Linked DNA regions of Homo sapiens: regions 1, 2, 3, 4 and 6 are each linked to region 5. Evidence: promoter capture Hi-C in 16 types of primary human blood cells and fetal thymus (Javierre and others, 2016). All regions are on one chromosome and are shown on one strand. The core of a region is centred on a gene start or on the middle of the fragment in contact, and the rest is flanking DNA. Distances in the headings are between cores, read along the strand shown.

Evidence for each region. The method cuts DNA at HindIII sites, captures the fragments that hold promoters and counts their contacts. A CHiCAGO score of 5 or more calls a contact.
Region 1: a contact is called between a fragment that was not itself captured here and the fragment with the promoter of SRCAP in region 5, in 2 of 17 cell types (fetal thymus and naive CD4 T cells). The highest score is 6.8, in fetal thymus.
Region 2: the fragment with the promoter of GDPD3 here is called in contact with the fragment with the promoter of SRCAP in region 5 in 1 of 17 cell types (total B cells); the score reaches 6.7 in total B cells.
Region 3: a contact is called between a fragment that was not itself captured here and the fragment with the promoter of SRCAP in region 5, in 2 of 17 cell types (fetal thymus and total CD4 T cells). The highest score is 8.6, in fetal thymus.
Region 4: a fragment that was not itself captured here is called in contact with the fragment with the promoter of SRCAP in region 5 in 1 of 17 cell types (erythroblasts); the score reaches 5.1 in erythroblasts.
Region 6: the fragment with the promoter of MAZ here is called in contact with the fragment with the promoter of SRCAP in region 5 in 1 of 17 cell types (erythroblasts); the score reaches 5.8 in erythroblasts.

Annotation. Positions count from the first base shown.
Region 1 is chr16:30,075,734-30,080,350 of GRCh38, reverse strand. PPP4C (protein phosphatase 4 catalytic subunit) reads right to left here and starts at 4,357. Exons shown (of 9, transcript NM_002720.3): 1 at 4,257-4,357; 2 at 3,876-4,036. The coding sequence starts at 3,973. RefSeq lists an enhancer at 3,744-3,833 and a silencer at 3,944-4,083. The HindIII fragment of the contact is 1,018 bases long and covers 1,181-2,198 here.
Region 2 is chr16:30,111,168-30,115,879 of GRCh38, reverse strand. It overlaps GDPD3 (glycerophosphodiester phosphodiesterase domain containing 3), which reads left to right and starts at 2,343. Exons shown (of 10, transcript NM_024307.3): 1 at 2,343-2,540; 2 at 2,816-2,858; 3 at 3,087-3,222; 4 at 3,312-3,357; 5 at 3,456-3,574; 6 at 3,659-3,748; 7 at 4,359-4,492. The coding sequence starts at 2,402. MAPK3 (mitogen-activated protein kinase 3) reads left to right here. Exons shown (of 9, transcript NM_002746.3): 9 at 1,172-1,775. RefSeq lists a silencer at 2,078-2,372. The HindIII fragment of the contact is 12,096 bases long and covers 306-4,712 here.
Region 3 is chr16:30,048,512-30,052,792 of GRCh38, reverse strand. It overlaps a transcript of TLCD3B not described here. Among named protein-coding and RNA genes, the nearest start is that of ALDOA, 15 kb to the left of the region's middle. RefSeq lists a silencer at 3,948-4,148. The HindIII fragment of the contact is 2,534 bases long and covers 855-3,388 here.
Region 4 is chr16:31,457,419-31,462,140 of GRCh38, reverse strand. It overlaps ARMC5 (armadillo repeat containing 5), which reads right to left and starts at 2,640. Exons shown (of 6, transcript NM_001105247.2): 1 at 2,142-2,640; 2 at 112-219; 3 at 1-10. The coding sequence starts at 2,616. RefSeq lists a silencer at 2,092-2,441 and enhancers at 2,632-2,971, 2,970-3,510, 4,158-4,722. The HindIII fragment of the contact is 2,362 bases long and covers 1,303-3,664 here.
Region 5 is chr16:30,696,951-30,701,481 of GRCh38, reverse strand. SRCAP (Snf2 related CREBBP activator protein) reads right to left here and starts at 2,311. Exons shown (of 34, transcript NM_006662.3): 1 at 2,240-2,311; 2 at 1,501-1,574; 3 at 604-866. The coding sequence starts at 657. It overlaps LOC730183 (a long non-coding RNA gene), which reads left to right and starts at 2,422. Exons shown (of 2, transcript NR_144637.2): 1 at 2,422-2,601; 2 at 3,551-3,775. It also overlaps the pseudogene RNU6-1043P. RefSeq lists silencers at 2,291-2,520, 2,661-3,070 and enhancers at 2,240-2,534, 3,191-3,380, 3,411-3,500. The HindIII fragment of the contact is 7,629 bases long and covers 40-4,531 here.
Region 6 is chr16:29,804,143-29,808,615 of GRCh38, reverse strand. MAZ (MYC associated zinc finger protein) reads right to left here and starts at 2,087. Exons shown (of 5, transcript NM_002383.4): 1 at 1,723-2,087; 2 at 788-1,638; 3 at 323-386; 4 at 1-46. The coding sequence starts at 1,914. It overlaps KIF22 (kinesin family member 22), which reads right to left. Exons shown (of 14, transcript NM_007317.3): 12 at 3,590-3,802; 13 at 3,442-3,501; 14 at 3,232-3,353. The coding sequence ends at 3,306. RefSeq lists enhancers at 297-536, 3,107-3,156 and silencers at 617-1,286, 2,187-2,326, 2,457-2,796, 3,537-3,586. The HindIII fragment of the contact is 3,714 bases long and covers 582-4,295 here.

The DNA of each region.
Region 1 (4,617 bases), core at 440-2,939, 620 kb after region 5:
TTTTTTGAGACAGAGTCTGGCTCCATTGCCCAGTCTGGAGTGCAGTGGCGCCATCTTTGCTCACTGCAAACCTCTGCTTCCTGGGTCAAGTGATTCTCCTGCCTCAACCTCCCGAGTAGCTGGGATTAGAAGCATGTACCACCACGCCCAGCTAATTTTTGTATTTTTAGTAGAGTCGAGATTTCACTATGTTGCCCAGGCTGGTCTCGAACTCCTGACCTCAAGTGATCTACCCACCTTTGCCTCCCAAAGTGCTGGGATTACAGATGTGAGCCACTGCACCCAGCCTATAGATACCCAATTTAAGCAACACTGTATTTCCAAATTTTGCCTGGTAATAGCAGCAGTGAACATTCGAGCTCATACTGTGTGCCACAAATGTTATTAAGAGCTTGGCAGGCAGGTACTATGATGATTCCCGGTACACAGATGAAGAAATTGAAGCAGGGAAGGAGGCTGGCTTGGTGCCAGTGACACAGGTGGGATATGAACCAGGGAAGCCTGGCTCTGGGGTCTGACTCTTTATCAAGATATTCTGATGTGGGAGGCCCAACTCGCCTGGCCCCCCTCTTTCTGCCAATCTCTTCCCTTAGAATGAGTTTCCTGAGCTCAGTGGACAGGAGGATTCACTTATGCCCCTTGCTCTGTATGGCAGAGGCAGCACGAAGGAGGTCTGCCCTGGCTTTCTGGGAACAGAAGGCAGCACTGGCGGTGGTCCAAGAGGCCACATCAGTACCCGGACTCTCCCACCTGCACTGCTTCTTGTGCTGAACATCCTTCCCCATCAACTGCTCATAGTGACCTTTCCAACAGACTGGGGAGGTTCTCTTCAGCCTCACGTAACAGTAAAGAAACCGAAGCTAGGCCGGGCGCGGTGGCTCATGCCTGTAATCCCAGCACTTTGGGAAGCCAAGGCAGGCAGATCATGAGGTCAAGAGATTGAGACCATCCTGGCCAACATGGTGAAACCCCGTCTCTAGTAAATATACAAAAATTAGCTGGGCATGGTGGCGCGTGCCTGTAATCCCAGCTACTTGGGAGGCTGAGGTAGGAGAATCACTTGAACCTAGGAGGTGGAGGTTGCAGTGAGCCAAGATCAGGCCACTGGCACTCCAGCCTGGGCAACAACAGCAAAACTCTGTCTCAAAAAAAAAAAAAAAGAAAAAAAGAAACCAAAGCTTACAGAAAAGCGGGAGGGTCAAGGTCACCAAGCTGGAGAGTGGCTAAATTGGAACCCAGAAGCCCAATTTCCTGAGAATTTATGCCAGCCCCTTCCACAGACCCTGAGTGAAAACCTGAAGCCCAGGGAGGTCACATGCAGGGCCCGTGCTCTCTGCAAAGCCCCCCTCAGTGCCAGCGCAACCCCAGTGTGGCCTGGGAATCAGGCCCAGATTCCAGCCCCAGTTCTGCCACTTGCAGCACTTCCCCAGCCCTATCAGGACCTGCCTGCAGTAACGGCTACCAGCGCAGCAGGCCCTGTGCCCGGATACCCGGACTCTCAACTGCATGTCATTATCACTTCAAAAAATCAGAAAGTGACTTGACGAGGGTCATATTGCTTCTAGGTGACAAGGCAAAGATTCATACTGAAGACCACCTGATTCAAAAGCTCAGCTCTCCTACTGTGCTAATATTTCTAGTAGCAGCAATTTCAGCTCAGACACTGCGGACCTCTGTGCTTCCACTGGTTTCATCTGCATGTCTGTGCCCTCTAGGCAAGCTGGTGCTCTTGACACCACCAGCCTCAGCCTGGGTCTCTGATGGGTCCCCAGGAGGCCATAACCAGGTATCAGAGATGGCCCTGCTTCAGACTGAGCCTGGGACAACAGCGGCCAACTCAGGCCTTGGCCTAGTACCTCCTAGTTCCACTCAGTTTCAACTGGGCAGGACCCTCCACCCCTCAGCCTTCCATGGCTTCCTGCTGCCTCACACCCCACATCAAAATCTAAATGCCTCTGCCTGGCTCTCAGTGACCACGGAGCACAGTCAAAGACCTGGATGCAAAACTAACTTCCCCTCCGACTAGCTGCGTGATGTTGGGCAAGACATTATCTACTCAAAGGCTCAGTTTCCTCTGCTATGAAATGGGGCTAAGTACTCAGCCCACCCTGCGTATTCCTTAGGCTGTTGCAAGGAGCCATGGAGACTGAATATACGACTTCCTGCTATTCTGCAAACTCCAGCATGCTATCTAAGCTTTGTCTACCATCACCACCACACTGATCCAGGGCCCGTGAGGGAGACAATACTTCGAGGTTAAAGAATAGTGCCAGGCAACAACAGGTTTAAGTTCCTAAAAATGCCAATCAGGACTGAGGGAAAGGGGACAACTAAAAACACCATGGGGCTGGTCTGGTCAGCTGGCAAAAGAGAAAAGCCACAGACAGGTGGCGAAAAAGAGGCCGACCCTGCTCATCATCCCCTCACAGGCCCTGTCTGGCTGCAGGTAGTCTATGTGAGGCAGGGCCAGGCAAAGAGCCTGAGGGCCACAGATTCAGGACCCAGCTCTGCCACGTCCTCAGTGGGTGACCTCAGTTAAGTCACCAGACCTCTACGAGTCATGGCTTCCTATTCGATAAAATGCAGCAAATGATTCCAACCTCATAGGATTGCTGGGGGGAAGAGATGGATAGAAGTTTTTTGCCAGTACCGGGCCAGGCCAAATAGTGGCCCTGTAAAGGCCAATGTTTACTGTTCAATAAACGTAGGGTAATTCTGTGGGCTCTTCTGCCACAATTCTCCAGCCTGGTAGAAGCCACAATCACACAGTTCCCCAGAGGAGGCAGGTAATTAAACCCCTGACTGTTCCCCACGCATCTCAGGGCCTCCACTGTTACATTCGTCCTGCTTGGAATGCCCTTCCCTCACTGGCCCTGCCTCCATCAGCTAGCCAAATTATCTTCATCCTTCAAGGCCTACCTCCACTCAAAAGCCCTCCCTGATGGCTTTAGCCCATCTCATTATTGCCCTCTTCCAAAAGAAATAGAATACCTGGTGATTATCAAGCACGTATGCTGTACCAAAACACTGTGCTAACCTCATCTCCAGCACCAACTCACTGAATCTTCACAATCATCTTATTAAGTACTATTAATTCTGCTTTACAAATAAAGACACTTAAGATTACTAACACAGCTAGAAAGCGGCAGAGTTCAGATTCAAACCTAGAGCCATCTCACACTGCAAAACCTAGAGCCTTAACCACTACATCATCCTACTTCCCACAGAACTCTGAACTGGCCTCCCTATCGTGCTTAATTCTACCCTGGCTTACTTGCTACGATTTCTCAGGCTCCCACCCTGAACGTGAATGATCCAACTCCACCTTTTTGCATTATGGCCTGAAAAAGGACAGGACACTAAGAGCTGGCTTCAGACCCCATTCCTTACTTGTGGGTAACTTTGAACATGAAAGTTCCCACCTGTAAAATGAGTACAATACCACCAATCTTTAAGGGTTGTTGTAATTAGAAGACTTTTATAAATCACAGGGTCTTTAACTTTCCTGTCTTAAACTTTTGGTTTTTGGCTGACTCTTTTACCACCTCCTTATTCGAGGCCTCTCCCACAGTTCGGCCCCCCTCCAACAAGCTTCCGTCCCCCGACAGATGGACTTGTTTCCTTGAGTTTCCTAAGTACTTTATGTAACACTCTTACTCCACTGGAAACACATCGTCTAATAAACTTTAAGTGTCTTTATCCACTCTGTCTTCCCCGAGCAGGCTAGCTTTTCCTCGAGGGCAGCGGCTCCATCCTGCTCCTCTCTGGGAAAGCTTCCAGAACGAGGCAAGCCCAAAGTTCTCAGTTGGGTTTGCCCCAGGCCAGAACCCGTGGGCGGCGGCTTGGCCTCCCTTCCCCAGGGCCAACGAGCTCACCTGGCCTTAGCGCACAGGGCCTTGACTTCGCTCTCCTTGATGAGCTCGCAGCGACGCAGCTGCTCGATCTGCCGGTCCAGGTCGCTGATCTCCGCCATGGCCCACCCCCGGCGCGGGTCAGAGTCGGGGCCGCCGCCCCCTCCGCACCGCACAGGGGTCTCCTGGGAAAGGCCAAGACGAGCCCGCGGATCAGTGTCCGTCCGGGGCTCGGAGCGGACAACTCGATTCTAGAGCCGGCCCGGCTCCCCCACCCCCGCCTCCCCTCACATCGGCCCCAGGACCCCCCGGCGTCCAACGGCCTGGCCGCACCCCCGCTAACTCCCGTCGAACCCCGCGGTCCCGCGCTAAGGACGGTGACTTAGAGGAGTCTCGCACTATTACCGCCGCTGCGACTCCGGTTCCGGCTCTCCGGCTCCCTGCCTCCCTCTTTCACTCCGCTTTCGACCGCCGCCGCCGCCGCCGCCGCCGCTCCTACTTCCGGCCCCGCCGCGGAAGCAAAGGAGGCCAGTTCCGCCGCGCGCCGGATGTGGCGTCATACACGCTCCTCTCCTTTCGCAGCGACCCCTGCACCACTTCTCCAGCCTGAGATCGGGAAGGAGGTGGAGGAACCCGGTGGCGGCCAGTGGCAGTTTTGTGGGCTCTGCCGCTGGGCGATGTGGAGGCTATTAGAAACCCTAGACCAGTCCCCTCCCATATCATTTCATAAAAATGTTTAAACAACTGTCTTTTCTTTTTTTGAGAC
Region 2 (4,712 bases), core at 1,094-3,593, 590 kb after region 5:
GGAGGCTGAGGCAGGAGAATTGCTTGAACCCAGGAGGCAGAGGTTGCAGTGAGCCGAGATCGCACCACTGCACTCCAGCCTGGACTACAGAGCAAGACTCCATCTCAAAAAAAAAAAAAAAAATGCCCAAGGCTGCCCAGACTGGTGGCCCACCGAGTCCTCCAGCCCCAAATGTCTCTGCCTGTCAACACCTTGCATCCTCCAGCCCCACAAGCCATTCTAATCTCCTTCTAGGAACAGAACTGGCAAAGAGGCAAGAGGTCACTGAGGGCCTCTGTCACCCAGGTGAGGACCTGAGCCAAGCTTCAGCTCTGGGTGTGGCAGAAGCAGGTGGGGCCATGATTGCTTTGGGAGGGGCCCAGCAGCGCCCAGCCTGACCCAGATTGCCAGGCCTCCTCACACCTGCTGCCAGATCAGCAGTTCACATAGCTGTGGGGACCCCACTGGCCTGCCCCCACCCACGCTGCCTCCTTGCCTCCTCCGGTCTCTTCCTGTCTTCAGCCAGGTGTGGCCTGATAGAAAGAAGGCATGCGCACCTGGGCTCAAACTCCAGCTGTGCCACTTAGTAAGTGCTGTGTGATATTGGGCAAGGCACCTCACCTCTCGGCGCCTCAGTTTCCGGAGTCAATCTATTTATCTTTTTTTTTGGTTTTGTTTTTTTGAGACAGTGTCTCGCTCTGTCACCCAGGCTGGAATGCAGTGGTGCAATCATAGCTCACTGCAGCCTCAAAACTCCTGGGTGCAAGGGATCCTCCCAGCTAGCTGGACGAGCCATTGCAACCGGCTAATTTTTTTTTTTTTTTTTTGTGGAGCTGGGGTCTTGCTATGTTGCCCAGGCCAGTCTCAAACTCCTGGGCTCAAGCGATCCACCACCTCAGCTTCTCAAAGTGCTGGGATTATAGGCGTGAGCCACTGTGCCCGGCCGAGACAGTTCTAATAATGAAAGCATAAAGCCCTAAGCATTGTTCTAAGAGGTTTACATGTATTAATTCCTTTAATCTTACAGCAGTACCTCAAGCTAGGTACTATTATTATCTCCATTTACAGATAAGGAAACTGAGACCCAGCCTATCCAGCTGTGAGGGTGAAATGAGAGATGTTGAGGTCAGGGCTCCAGTGGGTCTGCCCGGGGGGTGCTAACGACTCCTCTTCTGCCTGCTTCTCTCTTTAGGACCTGCCTCCTGCCTGCCCCTCTCCCGCCAGACTGTTAGAAAATGGACACTGTGCCCAGCCCGGACCTTGGCAGCCCAGGCCGGGGTGGAGCATGGGCCTGGCCACCTCTCTCCTTTGCTGAGGCCTCCAGCTTCAGGCAGGCCAAGGCCTTCTCCTCCCCACCCGCCCTCCCCACGGGGCCTCGGGACCTCAGGTGGCCCCAGTTCAATCTCCCGCTGCTGCTGCTGCGCCCTTACCTTCCCCAGCGTCCCAGTCTCTGGCAGTTCTGGAATGGAAGGGTTCTGGCTGCCCCAACCTGCTGAAGGGCAGAGGTGGAGGGTGGGGGGCGCTGAGTAGGGACTCAGGGCCATGCCTGCCCCCCTCATCTCATTCAAACCCCACCCTAGTTTCCCTGAAGGAACATTCCTTAGTCTCAAGGGCTAGCATCCCTGAGGAGCCAGGCCGGGCCGAATCCCCTCCCTGTCAAAGCTGTCACTTCGCGTGCCCTCGCTGCTTCTGTGTGTGGTGAGCAGAAGTGGAGCTGGGGGGCGTGGAGAGCCCGGCGCCCCTGCCACCTCCCTGACCCGTCTAATATATAAATATAGAGATGTGTCTATGGCTGACCCTGGCTCTGTCTGTGTTCGCGACGCCCCCGCCCTGCCCCGTGCGGCTCTGAGGACAGACTTGACTTGGGCTTTCAGGGGCCTGGTGCCCTTCACTCCCAGCTGCCCAGGGCTGGGGACGGGGCTCTGGAGAGCTCCAGACTCCTAGAAAGAAGGGGGTCAGTTTTCCCCTTAGTCACTGTCCTGTCCTCTCGCTAATGGCTTCCTGTCTAACTGGCTGGGGGTGATTCGGGGTGACTCAGGAGCACCCTACACACCCCTGGATCCTCTGAAATGGCAAGGGGTAGGCATGTTGGATGCGCTGGCTACAAGTACCAGTGAGAGGGAGAGGTCCTGACAGTCCTGGGTGGTTTTTACTCCCCTCATGTAGCCCAGGACGGGGCTGCTGGGGGCTGGGAAGGGCCTGGGGATATGAGAGCCAGGGCTACTTGCCTCACCTCCTGACACTACCCCAGCTTCAGCCGAACCCTGCAGCCTGGCTCCAAGCCAGCCCAGCGGCAGGCTCAGCAGGTCCCAGGGGCGTGGCAGTGGCCAGTAGTAGAGCCGGCCCACACTGGCTAGGCAGGCAGCACAGTCCCGCGGACGGCTGAGCGTGTGGCTGCAGGAGCTTCTGTGGGAGTACGGTCATGAGCCTTTTGCTGTACTATGCCCTCCCTGCCCTGGGCAGCTATGCCATGCTCTCCATCTTCTTCCTGCGCCGGCCTCATCTGCTGCACACGCCCAGGGCTCCCACCTTCCGCATCCGCCTGGGGGCCCACCGAGGAGGTGAGCCGGGTAGGGGTGAGAACAGGTGCCAAAGTGGACAGCACAGAGGGGTAGGTCCAAGGGGGCATGCTAGAAACGGGGCAGGGACCAAGAGAGAAGGAGAGCGAAGTGGCAGGGCAGGGTGTGGACGAGGAAGAAGATGCTGGCGCAGCCTGGGCTGGCTGGGGAGGTGAGGCCAGAGGGAGGATGGAGCCCAGAGAGGGAATGTGGGTGATGAGGTTGGGCCAGGCCCCTAGACCCCAAGCCCCAGAGGCCCACTCCAGTGCCCCCCACAGGATCTGGAGAGCTGCTGGAGAACACCATGGAGGCCATGGAGAAGTGAGTGTATCTGCCCCTGCCCAGGCTGCCATGTGAGGGTGTGCAGGTCGTGGACTGCATCACAGCAAGGGACGCCATTCACTTCCTAGCTGGGTGACTGGCGCCCCCTGGAGGTGGCCTGCACATCCCGCCACGAACTCCGCTCTCACATTCCCGGCCACCTCCCAGCCACCATGCCCCTCATCCCAGTCCCCTGCCCCTGCCCCCCGCTGACCTTCACCCCCACAGCTCCATGGCCCAGCGCTCGGACCTCCTGGAGCTCGACTGTCAGCTGACACGGGACAGAGTGGTGGTGGTGTCACATGATGAGAACCTGTGCCGCCAGTCGGGCCTAAACAGGGATGTGGGCAGCCTGGACTTCGAGGTGGGCCCTGCCCTGACACCCCAACCCCCACCCTGAGAGTCACCATGCCCAATGCGGGCCTCTAGTGACATCCTTCCTGTCCTCCCCAGGACCTGCCCCTCTACAAGGAGAAGCTGGAGGTTTACTTCTCTCCAGGTGAGAGCAAGGGCTTCGAGCCCTGCCTGGGCCATGCCTGCCTTCCTTGGACCTCCGCCTTGGCTTCCCTCTGACCCCTTTTCCCACACCACCCCCAGGCCACTTTGCTCACGGGTCAGACCGGCGCATGGTTCGTCTGGAGGACCTGTTCCAGAGGTTTCCAAGGACACCCATGAGCGTAGAGATCAAAGGGAAGAACGAAGAGCTCATCCGTGAGGTGGTGCTGCAGGCAGGGCTAGGGCGGCCACCGGGGGCGTGAGAGAGGCCTGGCTCTCCCTTCACCTCCTTCTCCTCCTCCCAGATAGCAGGCTTGGTGAGACGCTATGACCGTAATGAAATCACCATCTGGGCCTCGGAGAAGAGCTCGGTCATGAAGAAATGCAAGGCTGCCGTGAGTCCCCCCACCCCTCCCCCGTCCTCTTCCTCCTCCAGGGGCCCCTCCTCCCCAGAGCTGGAGCCCACCCAGCATGGGGACCCGAGCTAGAGGGGTCTGGGAGAGTTCCCAGTGGCGTGGCGGTGGCAATGAAAAGGGTGTGAACTCAGGCCTCGAACACAGAGCCAAGATGTGACTTTTGTTTTTTTTCTTTTTTGAAACACAGTCTCTCTCTGTCGCCCAGGCTGGAGTGCGGTGGTGCGACCTCGGCTCACTGCAACCTCTGCCTCCTGGGTTCAAGCGATTCTCATGCTTCAGCCTCCCGAGTAGCTGGGATTACAGGTGCACGCCACCACGCCCAGCTAATTTTTGTATTTTTAGTAGAGATGGGGTTTTACCATGTTAGCCAGGCTGGTCTTGAACTCCTGATCTCAGGTGATCCACCTGCCTCAGCCTCCCAAACTGCTGAGGTTACAGGCGTGAGCCACCACACCCAGCCCCAAGATGTGACTTGGATCCTGCAGGTAGTAGGGCCTCTGGAATGCCCACCACGGCTCCCCTGCAGCTCATGCCTCCTCTCTGCTTCCCCAGAGCAGACAGATTCTCATGCCTCTCCTTGCCTCCCCAGAACCCCGAGATGCCCCTGTCCTTCACAATAAGCCGAGGATTCTGGGTGCTGCTTTCCTACTACCTGGGGCTGCTGCCCTTCATCCCAATCCCTGAGAAGTTCTTCTTCTGCTTCCTGCCCAACATCATCAACAGGTACCAGTGGGGGGCGGACCTCAGAAAAACTCCCCACTGCTTAGGGTCTCCGTGGAGAAGGAGCCCAGATCTTCCCAGCTCCCCAGCTCCCCTCAGAGATAACCCCCAAGGTCTTTTAAGGACAGTGGTTCTTACCCAGCATTCATGAATACTAAGGGAACTGTGAACACCCTGAAATTCTGTGCATATGTGGAGTTTTAGGATAGAGAGGTAATTTATC
Region 3 (4,281 bases), core at 872-3,371, 650 kb after region 5:
CCTGCCGCTCAGGGATATTGTAAACATCAATGCTACTTTTTATATTTTATTTATATTTATTTATTTATTTATTTATTTATTTATTTATTTATTTTTGAGACGGAGTCTCGCTCTGTCGCCCAGGCTGCAGTGCAGTGGCGCGATCTCGGCTCACTGCAACCTCCGCCTCCCGTGTTCAAGTGATTCACCTGCCTCAGCCTCCCGAGTAGCTGGGATTACAGGCGCGCACTACCACACCCGGCTAATTTTTGTATTTTTAGTAGAGACAGGGTTTCGCAATGTTGACCAGGCTGGTCTCGAACTCCTGACCTCAAGTGATGCGCCCGCCTCAGCTTCCCAAAGTGCTGGGATTATAGGCGTGAGCCACCGCGCCGGGCCCGGTTCTTTTTTACTGATTTATTTATTAATTGATTTATTTATTTTTTGGAGACAGATTTTCGCTCATCTCCCAGGCTGGAGTGCAATGGTGTGATCTTGGCTCACTACAACCTATGTCTCCTGGGTTCAAGCGATTCTCCCGCCTCAGCCTCCCGAGTAGCTGAGATTACAGGCGACTGCCACCACGCACACCTAATTTTTGTATTTTTAGTAGAGACGGGGTTTCACCATGTTGGCCAGGCTGGTCTCGAACTCCTAACCTCAGGCAATCCCGCCCGCCTTGGCCTCCCAAAGTGCTAGGATTACTGGCATGAGCCACTGTGCCCAGCCTTTTTTTCTGAATTTTTAGAGATGTGGTCTTGCTATGTTGTTAAGGCTGGTCTTGAACTCCTGGGCTCAAGCAGTCCTCCAGCCTCAGCCTCCCAGGTAGCTGGGATTACAGGCATAAGCCACCTTCAGTAGGATCTGCTGAAGCTTCCTGAACCAGTGTGTAGGGTCTCACATTTCCACAGCTTTGCAGTTGCTGATCCCTCTGCCTGGAACACCCTCTGTCTTCCCCTCAAACCTCTTCCTCATCCCTCAAGCACGTCCTCAGTTTTGCCTCTGTGAGGTCTCCCTGCCAACCTCAGGCAGAGGTGGCTGCTTTGGACTGTGAATTCCCACAGCATCCTACAGATACTGTTGTTCTCGCACTTCTCACAAGATACTTGAATTCCTCACTTCCATGTCTGGCTCCACAATTAGACTGCAAGTGTCTGGGGCCTGGTCTGAGTCATCTCCGTATCCTGAGCTCTAGTACTTGGCCTAGCCCTGGGAGCCTTGGTGAATACTCACTGATTCTTTTTCTTTCTTTCTTTCTTTTTTCTTTTCTTTTCTTTTTTTTTTTTTTTTTTGAAACGGAGTTTTGCTCTTGTCGCCCAGGCTGGAGTGCAATGGTGTGATCTCAGCTCACTGCAACCTCCGCCCTGGATTCAAGCAATTCTCCTGCCTCAGCTTCCAGAGTAGCTGGAAGTGCCACCATGCCCAGCTAATTTTGTATTTTTAGTAGAGACGGGGTTTGTCCATGTTGGTCAGGCTGGTCTCGAACTCCCGACCTTAGGTGTTCTGCCCGCCTTGGCCTCCCAAAGTGCTGGGATTACAGGTGTGAGCCACTGCGCCTGGCCTGTTTTTTTCTTTTAATAAAGTAGACATGGGGTCTCACTATGTTGGCCAGGCTAGTCTCCAACTCCTGCCTCAAATGATCCTCCCACCTCGGCCTCCCAGGTTGCTGGTATTACAGGCCAGAGCCACTGCACTCAGCCAATACTCACTGATTCTATGAATGAATTGAAACCAAACACCATCCACGAATGAAGCATTGTTTTCCACACGTCCTAATTTCCTTGGCTTTCAAGGCACTCAGACCTCCCCGTTTCATTCCTAACCTTTTTAGATCACACACACACAGACACTTGCACACACCCACACATGCACGCTCACACAAGCACCCCTCTCTATGGAGGCCTCCGACTTCCTAAACGATGGCTGAATCCTGGCATTTTCCCCTAAAAACAATGCCACCATATACCTATTTTTGTCCATGTTCTCCACCCCAACATACCTCACCACAGCTGCTGCTCCTGGGGTTTCCTACACCATGAGGCAGCCACGGAAACTGCCAGGGGCTGTGTCCCTGGATCCAAATCTTCCCTCCCACTGTCAACCATACTGAGGTGGTCTCAGCCACCCTCTTGGCCACCCCTGGCCCTCTCAGAGGGCGTTTCAAGCCCAGAAAACAGAAGTCTAGCTGTTGCTAATGTCACCATTATTGATCCTAAAGAAGATTGTCTTCTTAGGCTGTCTTCCGGTTTTTGTTTTTGTTTTTGTTTTTTTTGAGACAGAGTCTCACTCGGTAGCCCAGGCTGGAGTGCAATGGCACAATCATGGCTCACCACAACAGCCTCGACCTCCTGGCTCAAGGGATCCTTCCACCTCAGTCTCCCAAGTAGCTGAGACTACAGGTGCATGCTACGACACCCAGCTAATTTTTAAAATTTTTTGTATAGACGGGGTCTCACTGTATTGCTCAGGCTGTTTTTGAACTCCTGGGCTCAGGCGATCCTCCTGCCTCAGCCTCTCGAATTGCTGGGATTACAAGCGTGAACCACTGTGCCCGGCCTTGGGCGGTCTTATTGTCTGATGGAATCCTGAGGACCAAGTTGAGGCCAGTTCTCACCTCAGCCCTACAAAAGGCCTCCAGGAACACATATTCTGCATATTCTGCCAACAGAGAGACTTCAGCCTTGGCAAGGCCCCTGGACACGTCCGTGGCCTGCAGTGCCCAGACTCGCTGGTGCTGGTGTTTTGTTCCTACCATGGGCTCATACATTATGCAGGAGCACGGGCAGTGCCCCAGGCTTGTGTGTTGCCAGGCAAGCCAAGACAAGGGATGATGTATGCACCCCACTTTGCCAAGGCCCCATTTCTTTTCTTTCTCTTTTTTTTTTTTTTTGAGATGGAGTCTTGCTCTGTTGCCCACGCTAGAGTGCAGTGGTGCGATCTCAGCGCACTGCAACCTCTGCCTCCCAAGTTGAGTGATTCTCCTATCTCAGCCTCCCAAATAGCTGGGATTACAGACGCATGCCACCATGCCCGGCTAATTTTTGTATTTTTAGTAGAGACAGGGTTTCACCATGTTGGCCAGGCTAGTCTTAAACTCCTGACCTTGTGATTTGTCCACGTCGGCCTCCCAAAGTGCTGGGTTACAGATGTGAGCTACTGCGCCTGGCTGTGCCGAGGCCCCACTTCTATCCACATCACAACATTTGCTGGGGGCAGAGAAAAACTGACTTCACAATAGCCAGCTAACCGCAAAGTCTCCTCTCCCGAAGTTGGAAGCTGGAGATGTCAGATGTATCATATGTAGTTCCGCACTTCCCCTAGGAAAGGGCAGACAGGATTGTATACTTCCAATAATCGTGGGGTGGGTGGGAGATCAGAGATGCAGAGTTCCCAGAAGATGAAAGAAGCTTCAGCAGGCTTGGACGTGGGAAGGGACCTGGCAGTTCTGATTCTGATCTAATACTTTCAGCTGCCTCCAATGGACATCCAACGATATCATCTCCCAGAGATTAAGAAGAGGTTCACCAGCCTCCTTAGTATAAAATGAAAGGCTTGTGTTTAGGTAATTACCCTGGGGGAATAAAGAAGCAGTGCTGAGCTAGAGCTGGTGTCAACAGAGGCCTCTCCACAGACTTTATCTTACTTAATCCTTACAGGAGGCACGAGTGGCAGAAACAATTACTTCCATCTTATAGGTTGGAAATAATAATGGCCCAGTTGGAAACAAAACGAAAAAAACCTTTAGGCCAGTGCAGTGGCTCACGCCTGTAATCCCAGCACTTTGGGAGGCCAAGGCAGGCGGACCACCTGAGGTCAGGAGTTTGAGATCAGCTTGGCTAGCATGGCAAAACCCCATCTCTACTAAAAATACAAAAATTAGCTGGGCATGGTGGCAGGTGCCTATAATCCAAGCTACTTGGGAGGCTGAGACAGGAGAATTGCTGGAACCCATGAGGTGAAGGTTGCAGTGAGCCAAGATCGCACCACTGCACTCCAGCCTGGGTGACAGACAGAGACTCCGCCCCCAAAAAGAAAAAAAAATAGCTGGGCGTGGTGGTGCATGCCTGTAATCTCAGCTACTCGGGAGGCTGAGGCAGGAGAATCACTTGAACTGGGGAGGCAGAGGGCAGAGGTTGCAGTGAGTTGAGATCATGTCACTGAACTCCAGCCTGGGCGAGAAAAAAAAAAAGCCTTTAGAACCAGGAAAGATCTGGATTTGAATTCTAGTTCTGCCACAGTATATCTGTGCAACCCTGGACAAGTCAATTGACCTCACTGAGCCTCAGTTGTACTCATGTGGAA
Region 4 (4,722 bases), core at 1,234-3,733, 760 kb before region 5:
GGAACAGCACCTGAGGGCAGGAAAGGGGAGCACAGAGGGTGAACAAGGACAGACACTCAAGCCTTTCTTCTGCCCCAAGCCCTAGCAGACCCCAACCTCACAGCCTCTTACCAGCACAGTGGATGTCCCCACAGCTCTCAGGTTCCATGGCTAAGTTCCCCAGGGCACGGGCCGTTCGGTTCTGGATGCTGTCTGTCTTCATGCACTGAAGAATGGTCACTGCAACGACAGTTTGGGCTTGTGAGGGTTCTACCCCTTACTGTCTCTCACATCAATAACCTGGAGAATGTGGCCTGAGAGGGCCTGGAAGGCTTTCAGAAGAGGCTAATGGTCGGCAGGGCACCGTGGCTCAAGCCTGTAATCCTAGCACTTTGGGGGACCAAGGTGGGTGGGTCACTTGAGGTCAGGAGTTCAAGACCAGCCTGGCCAACGGGGCCAAACCCCATCTCTACTAAAAATACAAAAATTATCTGGGCATGGTGGTACACGCCTGTAATCCCAGCTACCCGGGAGGCTGTGGCAGGAGAATTGCTTGAACCCAGGAGGCAGAGGTTGCAGTAAGCTGAGATCGTGTCACTGCACTCCAGCCTGGATGACAGAGCAAGACTCCATCTCAAAAAAATAAAAAGAAAGAGGCTAACACTCGGGCTGGGTCTGGAGGGGTACACAGGAAGGTATTTGCCAGAAGCACGGTGGATGGGGGTGTGAGAAGGCATTTCAGGTTTGGAAGCAGCCTTTCCAAAGGCCCAGAGGTAAGATACAGTGTCTGTGAAAGGCTTCAAATGTCAGGCCAAGGGGTCAGGACTTGAATGTGAAGGCACTGGGGGCCACACAAGGGTTTTATGAAGGGGAGTGACACGATACAATCTGACATCCATAGGGAGAATGCATTATGGGGAAAGAATAGGAAGGGGGGAGTCAAAAGGCTGTCATAATAGTCCAAGCATGAAAAGACAATAGCTTGAACCAACCCAGCTACTGGCATCACACAGCACAGAGATACCAGTCTCTGGGCACACAATGGAAGTAGGAAGAGAGAGAAGCAGATAAATTCAGAAGATATTTAAGATGAAAAATAGTAGCTGAATGATGGGGGTTATTTAATAACCAAAGCTCTTGTCAAACATATATGGTCCAGATACATTTTATGTAAATTTTAAATATATTAATGCTTCCCTTTATCCGAAAAGTTAAGATGTCATCAAAACTAGCATAATTTCGTGGAAGGCAGGTAGTGACATGTAAACTGCTTTCACACATTGCCACTAGGAGGCACCAATTTAGCTGGTAAACAGAAAAGCTTATGTTTTGCTAGGATTTGTTCTTACTGTGCTGGTTTTAATTATTTTTATTTATTTTTTCCTGCTTCCTAAGCGACTACTGATTTGTTTGGTTTTCTAAGATACGAGGTCTTGTTACGTTGCCCAGGCTGGAATGCAGTGGCTATTCACAGGCAGTCATTGTTCACTGCAGCCTCAACCTCCTAGGCTCAAGGGATCCTCCCGCCTCAGCCTCCCAAATAGCTGGAACTACAGGCGCGTACCACTGCACCCAGCTTATGCTAGTTTTTAATAACTTGAAATACGTATCATGCTTAGAATATTTGCATATTCGTGCCATATTTGTACTTCGTTTTCTCCCCACTCTGATTTTTTTAGGTAGCTATTATTGCCCCATTTTACAAGGAATCCTAGCCTCGGAGGGGTTAGGTGACTTTTGCAGATCTCCCTTTCTGAACCACTACACCTTCCAGCTCATCAGTGGGGCTTCAGAACCTTGCACAGGGCCGGACACATAGTTGGGCACTGAATGTCTGCTATGAACATCATAACTGGACGGTAAGAATCATCTGAAAAAATCACCAAATAACTCTTTGGCCTCCGCTAGTCCAGCTTCGAAAGAAGTCCTCAACAACCAATTCCTAGATAATGGCTACAATTATCTGGTCTGGGAGGGCTCTCTCTCATCTATAGAGAGTGCAGTGACGTCACGGGGCACAACAGATTGAGAAACAGGAGCGATGCGCCATCACAAAGCACGTTATTCCGGGATAGGACACAAAGAACTCCAGACTGCCCGGGTCTAGAGAGCAAGGGAGTTGCAAACCTAATCTTTCTAGGAAACGGGGGCGGAGCACTTACCCAAAGGGAGTATGCCTCCGAGTCTGCGCACTTCGGTCCGGCACGCCCCTTCCGTACAGCAATCGGCTAGGATGCTGAGCGCCAAGTCCAGCGTCTTGCGCAGGCGCACTGGCGGCGTAGGACTAGACGACGACACAGCGGAGGGGGCGGGGCCCGACGCGGGGGCGGGGCTAGAAGCTCCCGACGCGGCCGACGAGGGGGCGGAGCCGGGGCCTGCCTGGGACGGGGCGGAACCCGCTGCAGCCGCTCGCCGTAGCAGCGCGAGTAGGGGGCGGAGCCCGCCGCGTGCCCGGAAGCGCTCGATTCCCCCCGCTGCCTTGATGTGGCGCGTGCGGAGGGCTAGGAGCGCGCGGCTCAGGGGTGTCTCGTTGGTCGCTGGGTCCTTTTCCCCACCCAGAGCCTCCCCGGCCGCCGCCGCGAGCTGCGCGAGGCAGAACGAGAGCGAGTCCGTGAGGGTTGGCTTCGCAGCCGCCATCTTGGCTCGGGCCTCAGACTCCGCCCCGCTTCTCGCCGCTGATCCCAGGGAGCGGAACTGGAAGACAGGGAAATCGTCGGGCACCGCCTCGCTGACGCTGTTTAGCGCCACCGCAGTGATGCAAGTCGGAAGTTGTAGTTCTCGACCCCGGAAGTCTGTCCTTGCACACGAGGCGCGGCAGTACCTTAATCGCAGCGCATCCTGGGACGTGCGGGCGGTGCATGAGGGAGATGTGGTCCGCGTCGAGCTTCTCACGCCTACCTCGGGAAGCGCTGGAAACTCTTCCAGGGCCCTCCAGGTGGGCCAGGGCCTCCGAACAGCCCAGAAGTCCGACCACGGAGCCTTCGTGCCGTGCCCCGCCCCCGGCGTGCACTCGGCGGGGACCGCCTTTTCTCCTCTAGGCTCGCTTCGCTGCCCCCCAGCGGTGGTGCGGCCCGGCCTTGGGACGGACTCCGAGAACCCCGAGCCGGGCCGAAAGTGCGGGGTCCTGACCGCGCCGCAGACGGGGAGCCCTCGCTCGGTCAGAGGAAGAAGAGGGTTAAACCTACCGAGAACGTTCGCTGCCGCTTCCTAGAGTGACGGGCTTGTGGAATTTTCCGTTTCCGGAGCTGGACCCCGGTGTCCCGAGTGTCCTCCGCTCTGGACGTGCTCGTGAGCTCAGGAGCTGGCATCTAGGAAACGGGGAGTTCTTCACTCGCAGCGCAGTCGGCCGCGCCAGAAGAGGCGAGGGAGAATCCGGACGGGGCGGGGCGGCGGGGGAGCGGGACATTCGCGTCCCGGGGAGCCCCCAGGTCACCCCTGGATTGCGAGGTGGCTCCGCCTGAGCAGCCCTTCCTGGTGTGGTCGGGGCAGCTGCCCGCCCGGAAAATGGTCAGGCTCTAGCCCTGGGGAGGAAGAAGCCTTTGCCAAGAGCAACCGTCTACAAGCCCCAAAACCTGCGAGTGCCGGAAATGTGGACTGACCACAGCCTGCCTCCCCGGCTTCATTCACCACCAAGGCAGCCCCTCTGGTGACAAGCCTTACCGTTGTCCGGGTTATGGCAGAAGCTTCCGATGTGGCTCTGATCTGGTTAAGCACCACTGGGTACACACCGGTGAAAAGCCGTACTCCTGCCCCGAGTGTGACCATCGCTTCGGCCCTATGCCTGTGCCTAGTGTGGTAAGACTTTCAGCGTCAGCTCCAACCTGATCCAGCACCAGCGCGCTCACACCGCTAAAAGCCTTACCGCTGAGGGGACTGCGGCAAGAGTCTCAGCCTTGGCTCCACCCTGTTGCAGCACCTGCGCTCCACATGGGTGAGAAGGCCTCTAAGTGCCTTGTTTGTAGTAAGAGTTTTGTGCACAGTTGGAATCTGCTGCGGCACCAGCACAGTCACAAAGTCCGGAAACCTGATGCTTGGTGGTGAGTGTGGCCAGACCTTCGGCCACAGCTCCCACCTGCCCATCCACTAGGCGGCCCACAGCAGCACCCCTGCGTCTGCCTGCAGTGTGGCAGGGCCCTAGCGCAAAGCTCCAACCTGGGCCAGCACCAGCGGACGCACTAGGGCGGCAGCCTCTGCAAATAGCCCTGGCTTCAATTTTAGCTGAAACTTCAGCTCTGACTTTGGTTCGGACTTCAAGGAAATGGAAGGAACCAGGATCTCTAAGCAGACCCCCTTCTGCTCCCTTAGGGCTGTTGATTTTAGAGCTAATGATGGGATTCGGTTGGGGCGAGGGGGTCTCCACATCTTTTTGCCCAACCCTTTGCTAAGTCAAGGAACCCCAGTCTGGGCTGGGCATGGTGGCTCATGCCTGTAATCCCAGCACTTTGGGAGGCCAAGGTTAGCGGATCACTGGAGGCCAGGAGTTCGAGACCAGCCTGGCCAACATATTGAAACCCTGTCTCTACTAAAAAAAAAATGCTAGGCGTGTTGGCTCTCGCCTGTAATCCCAGCTACTCGGGAGGCTGAGGCAGGAGACTCACTTGAACCCCGGGAGGCGGAGGCTGCAGTGAGCGAAGATCGTGCCACTGCACTCCAGCCTGGGCGACAGAGAGTGTCTCAAAAAAATAACAAATTTAAAAATTGTTTTTAACAAAGGAGCCCCAGTCTGGAAGAATCAGAACACTA
Region 5 (4,531 bases), core at 1,062-3,561:
GGAAAACTATAAATACCAACTTTACAAACATGAAAAGCTTACTGTACTGCTCACTTTGGCAACACATATACTAAAACTGGGAGGATACAGAAAAGATTAGCATGGCCCCTGTGCAAGGATGACACAATAAAGAAACCCTTTTTATAGAAAAATTTAAAAAATTAAAATAGAAAGCTGACTGTACACACACCTAGATGTGTTTAAAAGTCATGCTTTTTTTCCTACCCCACACCCTTCCTTGGTATGAGAAAGGAATGAACACTACACACCATCCATAGGCTTATCCTACTCCAGTACTGATAGAAGTTAAACTATTCTTAAAGCGTATGGTATTAGAAGCATGGTGCCACGACCTCCATTTCCAGCCTAGCCTAATTCAACCTTTTTCAGGTAACGAGGCGCTTTTACACTCTTGGAGATAATATTACACTAATGTTAAATGGAATGTGAGTATCCAACAGACCTGATATACTACAGCCCAGCCCCCGAGCACCAAAGATTCTCCAAAACTCTCCACAAATATTCCCCTGCCACATTTCTTCTGCCTCACACTCAACAATCCACAAAGCAGAAGCAGAGAAGGAACTCTTCCCACTTTCAAACCTGTGTCTGTAGGACTGGGAGCTGAGGGTGAGCAGGGGAGGGGCTGCTCTGCATGGTCCCACTCCCAGGCTCCCCCTTGGATGCCTGAAGAATGACTGGGTTGTTATCACCAGTACTGCTGGCCGAGGGGCTGGCGTCCGGCTGCAGGGCATGCTGGGAGCTGGCCTCATTCTGGGCCACCGGCCACCGGGACCCGCCTTCCAGGGCCCGGGGCCCACCAGGGCGTCCCAGCCTCCGCTCAGGTCCACCAGCCTCTGGAGCACCTAAAGTAGGGTTAAAAAAAAAAAAAAAGACAGAAATGCAGTTAAAGGGGATGAAAAAGTATTTTTAAAAAACCAGAAATAACACTGAATAAAGAGAAACACAGAAATTACAGGTTACATTTCTTGAGCACTTACTATGTATAAGATACTTTTAGTACCTGTTTGATGTGTTCTATAATCCTCACACCTACCTTAAAAACCAAGTGCTTTTCACAGCATAACAAATATTGACTTCCTCCTACACACAACGGATATAGCCATGCAGAAAGGATTCCCGACCTAAATGTAGCTTACATTCTAATATAATCTGTTTTGTAAGTTACGAAGTTAAGACCTTATGATTTGCGGAAGGTTACACAGTAAAAAAGTGATAGGAGGGCTTCAATCCACAGTCTGATGCCAAAACCAAGGAAAACCTGCTACTCTTCCTGGTAGAGCCAGGTTGACCACGTTTTCCTCAACCCACAGCCTCAGTTCTGTTGTTGTACTATAATCAAACCCTCTACAGAAAAATCACATGCAAACATTCCCATGCTTCTCTAGAGTGAAAATCCCCAATACGGACCTATAATTGCTTTATCTCAAACATTTCTCCCATTAGCATCAGCACACAAAATGGTAGCAGATCCCTCACCTGTGTGAGCTGAGACCACACCCCCTGTGAAAGTCTGCACTTCCACGGTGCCGCCGTACTGAAGGGAATCACACCTGAAACATCCATCAAAGCGTATTATTTACTCCAGTTTTTTGAGACGTTTAAATATACCCAAATCAGTTAAAAGACTAGAAACAGAAAAACTACAGTAGTAGGAAAATCTCACATTTCAGGGAAATGCAAATCATGTTTTGTGAATTCCGGAGGGACATACGATCCTGCCTGGGGGCAGGAGCAGGAAAGGAGTGAAGAAAGAAAGTTCAAAAATTTTAAGTGTAAAGGCTCCAACCACAGAATGGAAGACAAAAAAAAAATACAGCAAAAAAAAGCTGTCACATCCAGAACCTCAGAAAGGTGCTACCTGCCTGCGGGCCTTTCCAGTGAGGGCTGAACGCAGAAGTGAGAGTGGAACTCCCGGGAAGAGTCAACAAACAGGCTGGTCACAGGAAAATCCGCCCAGGATTCAGGGCAGGGCGCTGTATATCCCATACCTGCGCCTTGAGACACTTCCCCAAATACAAGAACCACAGCAAAAGGAGACTCAGGAGCAGTCAAAAGCGAGAGGCCGCACTGCCAAGAACCACGCGCCGGAAACAGGCAGTGTGAACCCGCAGGAGGCCCGGAAATGCTTCCCCAGTGTTTAAGGAAATTCCTAAACCACAGTGCCGGCTTTGATTCACTCCCTACTCCGCCACACGTTCCCAAGACCCGAGCTCACCAGAAGCCAACAAGCCTTAACTCTTGACTTCAGGTTTCGTGACCATCTCCCTAGCCCTCCCGACGGACTGACCTCGCGTGACCCCTGACCTCTGCCCAAGTTGCCACTAGCCCTGAGATAGCCCCGCCCCCTCCAGACTCCCACCCCACCCAACGTGCGCGCCGGGCGGGGGAGGGGCCCGCGCGTGCGCGGCTGGAGGCGGAGCGAGCCGGCTGCGCGCACGGCCCAGGGGCTCCCGCCAGAACCCGAGCCCACGCACACAAGGGTCGCGGGGCTGGGAAGCTCGTCATCCAAGCCCGTCAGGGAGCCCCCCCATCACCCGACCGCGAAAGGCTGAGAGAAGGGAGGGTTCGTGCCACCAGGTCCTGGTCCCCCGGCTAGATGTGGTGGGCGCGCGCCCCGACTACTCGTCCCACGCCCCCCTTCCTCTTCCCGCGCGCCCCTGAGGGGTGACTGGGTTGGTGGGCGGGCAGGAGCGCACCTGGGTCCGTCCTCTCAGGGCTCGCTCGCTCGCTCGCTCGCTCAGGCACGCGTGCGCAGAAGGGCGGGAAGGGAGAGGAGACACGCCGGGGCCCAGCGCCGGCCGGCCTGACCCCCTCAGTCTGTCTCTATGGGCGCGCGCCGACAGCCTCGCGCACCGGCCCCGGGGCCCCGGCTGAGGGTGCGCGCGCAGCACCCCGGGAAGGTGGGGGGGAGGCGGTGGCGGAAAGATGCGCGCGCAGTCAGCCGTCATGGGAGGGGGAACTGTGGGGCGTTCGCCATCTTGTCTCCCTCTCCTTACCTGCGTCCTCGGGGGCGTGCGCACCACCCCCCCTCCCGCCTAGGAGGGGGGAGGGCCCCCTCTTGGCCACCGCCTTCGCGGCCTTTAAACTCCCCTGGAGACTGCGGCTACTGCCACCGCCTTGCCTCCACTGCCTCTTCGCGCAGCACACAGATGCGGACGGTGGGTGGGAAAAAGGGCAGACGCTACTCCCAGCGAACCGCCGCTGCCGCTCCCGAGGCCTCACCAAAATGGCCGCCGCCGTCTCGGCCGCCACCACCACCACTACCACCACCACTCGCTCGGAATCGCTATCGCCGGCGCGGCCCGTCTTCTCGCGAGAGACAGTAACTGGAGGGTGGGGGAACGGGGAGGCTCGCGTGCTAGCGTAGGGTGCAGCACGGTGCGCAAGGCAGCCTGGGAGGTGTAGTCTCCCAGAGGCTGCGCGCTCGCCCTTCCTCGGAGCGCCTTTACCGTTTGCCCCTAGATCTACCTGGGGCTGCATTGCGGCTGCCAGCTCGGACCACCGCCACCTCCCTTTTTATTTACAGATCACCCAGTAAGCTGCAGCAAGTTAGCAGTGGAACCTGGGCCTCCCGATTCCCATGGCAGCCCACTTCTGTAGCGCTGCTTCGTTTTACGCGAGGATGGTTTCCTGATAGCTTTCAAACACCTTTGCCATCTCTTCGCAAACTTTCTAGATTAAGAATCCCTTTGAGAATCTGATACCTTTACCCCAGAATAGAACAATAAATAACAGCTACCTTCTACTGACACTACTTGGTGCCTTGATTATTTCTTTTAATCCTAACTGCTCCATTTTACAAACGAATTGAGGCTCAGGCGTTAAAACACAGTGACAGATCCTGAAGTCAAGATTCCTAGCCAAGCAGTCTAAGCCACAAGAATGCACTCGCTGTCATAAAATTTTACCACCTAAAGCCCCCGCTAAGAGGCCAGGTTAGGAAGCCCTGATGAAGCTCCCCTTCCTCCATTCAGTTTAGCTCTTCCCTGCGAAGAGGATTGTTGGTCCCATTTTACAGATGAAGTTTGGGTTGAAAGAAAAGTGGATGATGCCCATCTTTTCTAGACCCTCCTCCCATCACCCCCAGAAGAGGGGATCCCAGGCCAGAGCCTGAATTGGACCTAGCCTTGTGCCATTAACTCCTTGCTATGTGACCTTGAGCAATTAACTTCACCTTTCTGAGCTTCAGTTTCCTCTGTAAAGTGAGGATAGAATTGCTGATGTAAAATTGCTTTGAAAGATCTAAAGGGCCAGGTGCGGTGGCTCACACCTGTAACCCCAGCACTTTGGGAGGCCAAGGCAGGAGGATCACTTGAGGCCAGGAGCTCAAGACCAGCCTGGGTAACATAGTGAGACGTCGTCTCTACAGTAAATTAAAAATTTTAAAATTATGAAAAAATAAAAAAGCTCTAAAGGACTACCTAAATGTGGAGTATATTTCACTATAGTTCAGTGTTTCACACCCATGATCTTAAGGTCAAGGTTAGCTTTCTGATGTGCTTTACAT
Region 6 (4,473 bases), core at 838-3,337, 890 kb after region 5:
TGTGCGCCCGCAGCCGATCCTTCGTGGCGAAAGCTGCCTCACATTTCTGAGGAGGGGGGAGGGGCGTGGGGGGTGTCACAGGAGAGTTAAAGCTTGGTGGGCTGGGGAGGGGGGAGCAAGAGATTAAAGGAATCAGAGCCTTGGGGATCTTTGATCTGTAGGAAATGGGAGTGACATGATGAGGCCTTGAAGAAGGGATGAGAAAATGGAGCAAAAAGGCAAAAAGAAGAGAGAGAAAAAGGGGGTCTGAGAGACTGACTCAGACAGCTACCATGAGGATCAAAATCATGAAAACCAAGACAGGAGGAGGCGGGCTTCCTACCTCACATTTGAAGGGCCGTTCTGTTGAGTGCACTTGTCTGACGTGACTGTTGAGGTGATCCGGCCTGGGGACACGTTGGGGTTGGGGTTAGGGCGGAGGTGGTGCGCCCCAAATCCACCAAACCGCACCACAGGCCTTTCCGAGGATCCCTGCGCCTCCTCCCGGAGCCCAGGCCGTCACAGCGACACTTAAGCAGGAAATCCCTCCCCTGGAGCCCAGCAGCCGCTGCCGCCGCCGCCGCCTCCTCCCACGCGAAGCTTCCGTCAACCCCAAGGCCCACCTCCTCGACAAAGGACCACCCCTTGCTCCCTGGTAACCGGGAGAGGCTTCCTCCCTCCGCCCTGGGAGTGGCTCCCCTTCCCCAGCCTCAGCAGCCGCCTCCCTCCCCGCCAGCCACGGCCAGGCCACCTCCGTCGCGTCCCTCCCTCCCCACGGCCTAGCGGGCGGCCGAGGCCCCGTGCACACCGGGAGAAGCTCTTGCCACAGTGGGAGCAGTTGTAGGGCTTGTGCACAGCGCCGTCATGTGAGCGCACGTGGTAGCTCATGCGGTCCTTGCGCTTGAAGCGCTGCTGGCACACCGGGCACTGGTAGGGCTTCTCGTCCGAGTGCGACAGCTTGTGTCGGTTCAGGTGGTAGACGTCGCGGAAGGCCTTGCCACACATCTCGCAGGCATGGTTCTTCCGGATGCGCTTCCCCGAGGCGGTCGTGGTCACCACGCCACCGGCGGCCACTGCGGCAGCGCCGCCGCCGGCACCCGCCTCTCCCCCTCCCCCGCCGGCTCCGCTCAGCTGGGGCACGCTCAGGAGGCTCAGGGGCACCATGGTCGGCATCTTCATAGCACCCGAGGGGACCCGGCCGGCCTTGGCTCCCGTGTGGATGGCTTCGTGCCTCCGGAGATTGTAGCCGTTCTTGAACTCCTTGGCGCACAGAGCGCAGATGTAGGGCCCCTTGCTCTTTGTCTTCTTCTCCAAGGCAGACGCGACCGGGGCCACGGCGACCGTCGAGGTTGGGGCTACGACGGCGGTGGCCGCCGCCGCGGCGATAGTGGCGGCGGAGGCGGGGGGCGCGGCCTCGGCCGCGGGCGCCGACACTGGCGGGGGTGGCGGAGGGGGCGCCGGAGGCTGCTTCAGGGCCGCTGTGTCCACCGTAGAGGCGGCGGCAGGGGCCGGGGGCGCGGCAGCGACGGCGGCAGCAGCGGCGGCAGCGGCCGCAGCAGCCGCGGCGGACTCCTGGGCGGCGGCGAGCACCGGGAGCAAGTCCACCTGGAGGGGCTCGGCCGCCGGGGCCTGGGGCGTGGGCGGGGGCGCCGGCGCGGCCTGCGGAGACAAGGCGCCGAGTGGGCCGCGGGTGCGGGCGGGCGTCCCCCCCCAGCCCGGGCCGCCGCGGCCGGCCCTACTCACCTGGAATGGACTCTGGGCGCAGCCCTGGGAGGCAAAGAAGCGGGACTGGAGCTCAGCCCCGACCTGCAGGGGGTTCTGGGCGTGACCCTGAGGTGGCGGGAAGGAGTTCATGAGGCCGCCCACCCCCCGGGAGTCCAGGCCCAGCACGGGGAAGGGGGGGGCCAGCAGCGTGCAAGGAAACACCGGGAACATGGCCTCGGCCGCAGCGGGGCCCCCGGGGCTCAGCGGGGGCCGGGGGCGCGGGCCGCGCGGGGCCCGGGCTCGGGGCGCCGCCCCCGGCCGGCCGGGCTGGGCCGCGCCGAACGCATGGCCCGCGGGCCGCCCCGCCGCCCGCGCACCCCGGCCGGCGGGAGGGAGGAAAAGAGGGCGCCTTGCGGGCCGCGGAGCGCCGCGGCGACGGCGGCGGCGACGCCCCCTGGGTGGGGGCGGGAGGCCCCGCGGGGCCGGGGCCGGGGGCGGGGGCCCGGGCGGCGGCGGCGGCGGCGGCGGCGGTTGGAGCCTGGCGGGGCGGGGTGGGGGGAGCGAGGGAGCAGCCTCGGCCCCCGCCGCGCGCGCGCCCAGCCGGCGCCTCGGGGAGGGCGGGGGAGGGCGCGAGGGAGGGAGGGGGACAGCTGCGCGCGCACCGGGCGCGCGGAGGGGGGGTGGGACGGGAGGGAGGGCGGGCAGGAGGGGGTGTGGGCAGGGGGGTGGGGGCGGGGGGAGGGAGTTGTTACCTGGAAGATGAAGCTGCTCCAGTTGCTGGGATCCATGGCGGAGGGAGGGAGGGAGGTGGCTCGCGCTCACCCTGGGGCGGGAGGAGGAGGCGGCGGCGGTGGGGGAGGGGGAACCCGGGAGGAGGCGCGCGGGGCGGGCAGGAGGGGGGAGGTGGAGGGTGGGGGAAGCGGAGCACACTACGCGCGGGGAGGGCGGGCGGGGGGCGCGAGGACACACAAGAGGCTGGAGCGGGCGCGAGCGCTAGCGCGAGCGCGCGCGTGGCCAGCGGGAGGGGCAGGCGCGAGAGGGACTCTGGCGGGAGGAGGGACGGGGGAGCCACCCAGCAGCCCGAGTCGCCCCGAGCGCGAGACCCCTGAGACGGCTGCTGATTGGCTGACGATGGCGCAGGTGGTGGGCGCGCGGGAGACAGGGCGGCTTCTCTCCTCTTCCCCCCGCCAACGATTCCACTCCCCCTCCCTCCGCCAGCGGCCGTTATTTCGCGCGCACGCGCACAAGGCCGCCGTCGTTGCCGAGCGGGAGAATGGGGGAGCGCGCGCGCCGGGGGCACGGACGGGGCGGGGCTAATCCCTGAGCGCGCGCCCGCCTAACGGTCGCAGGCCTCATGCTTCGGCTTCCGCTTTTTGCGTCCTGCAGGCCACCGTCCTCCCCGCCCCACCCCAGCGGTGTATTTACAATCCTGCGCTGAGTCGTTCCCCGAAGATGGCGCCCAGTGGAGTCGCCTGCCTTGCTCGCGGCCCACCCCGAGGCGGTCACACCCCGGTCCCGCCCCCGCAGCCCCAAAAATCAGGCGGAAGCACCGGAGCAAAAACTGTATTTACACAACACGGGGTTATACAAAAATTTGAAAAGGCGGAGTGAGGAGACGACGGTCAGGAGGCGCCACAGCGCTGGCCGGCGGCGAGACCCAGGATGTTTGCCTGCAACACAGGAGGGAGGGAGACAGCGACGTTAGAGAGGGGCGCGGGGCGCAGGACAGGCAGAGGAGGGGCAGGGCCGTGACTTCACCTTCAGGAAGGACTCCATCTGTTTCCCCGTTATGCCCTCCACGCGTTCCAGGTCCTCCACCTGGCGGGACAGGATCGATAGGGGACAGGGTCTCGGGGGTACCCGGTCTCCCCCGCCCCCGCCCTCCCCCAGTCCAGTGGGCTGCTACCTGGCTGAAGGGGCCGTGGAGCTCCCGCCAGCCCACGATTAGCTGGGCCTTCTTCGGGCCAATGCGCTGAAGACTGCGGAGATCTCGGGCTGAGCCTTCGTTCAGCAGATCCAGTATTTTTTGGCGCCCATGAGCCAGTAGCTCCGGGCTGATCTGTAGCTCCCAGCAGTCCTCAGCCTTCTCCTCAGGCTCTAGGGCATCCAGGGACTCCAGCTGGGAGGCAAAGGGAGATGAGTGACACGCAGGGCAGCCAAGTGCTTTGGGCTCCTCTGCCAAGACTAGGAGCCCAGCACCAGCTACCTCCTGCGCTCCAGCCTCTTCCTCTCTTGTCAAGTGTGTCCAAAATCCCGCCCTCAGGTCACTCTCTGGGTTAATTCTTATTATGCAACTAGTGAAAGAGAGGTACTACTCAGTACCCAGTGGTAATATTAGCACCCTTCTCATGGAGTTGCTGTGGAGATCAAGTGAGTTAATGAATGTAAAGCACAAAATAAGCTCTTAAATCTGGTCCCTCATCTCTAAAAGGGAAAGAATAAGCTGTCTTTCAAAAAGTACATGGGAGAAAGTAATATGAATAAATGATACCTCCCCCAACCATCTCAGTTTTTGGGTAGTTCTAGTGGTGTTCGATTCTGGGTATGTGCATATGTGTGGTTTCTTGCTTGACTGCTTAGGTCATAGTTCCCTAAGTTTTCCCTCTTAAGCTTGTAGAGGGTAGAAGCCAGGCTACACAGTGGAACATCCGCTCTGCGAGGTACATCCACATCACTGCCTTCCACCCTAAATGCCCTGCAAGGAACCATCCATCACCACATTCCAGGGGTAAGCAAGTTGAGGTCTGTTAGTAGCTGGCGGCCATCATCCAGTTCGTTTAACCCCAAGGC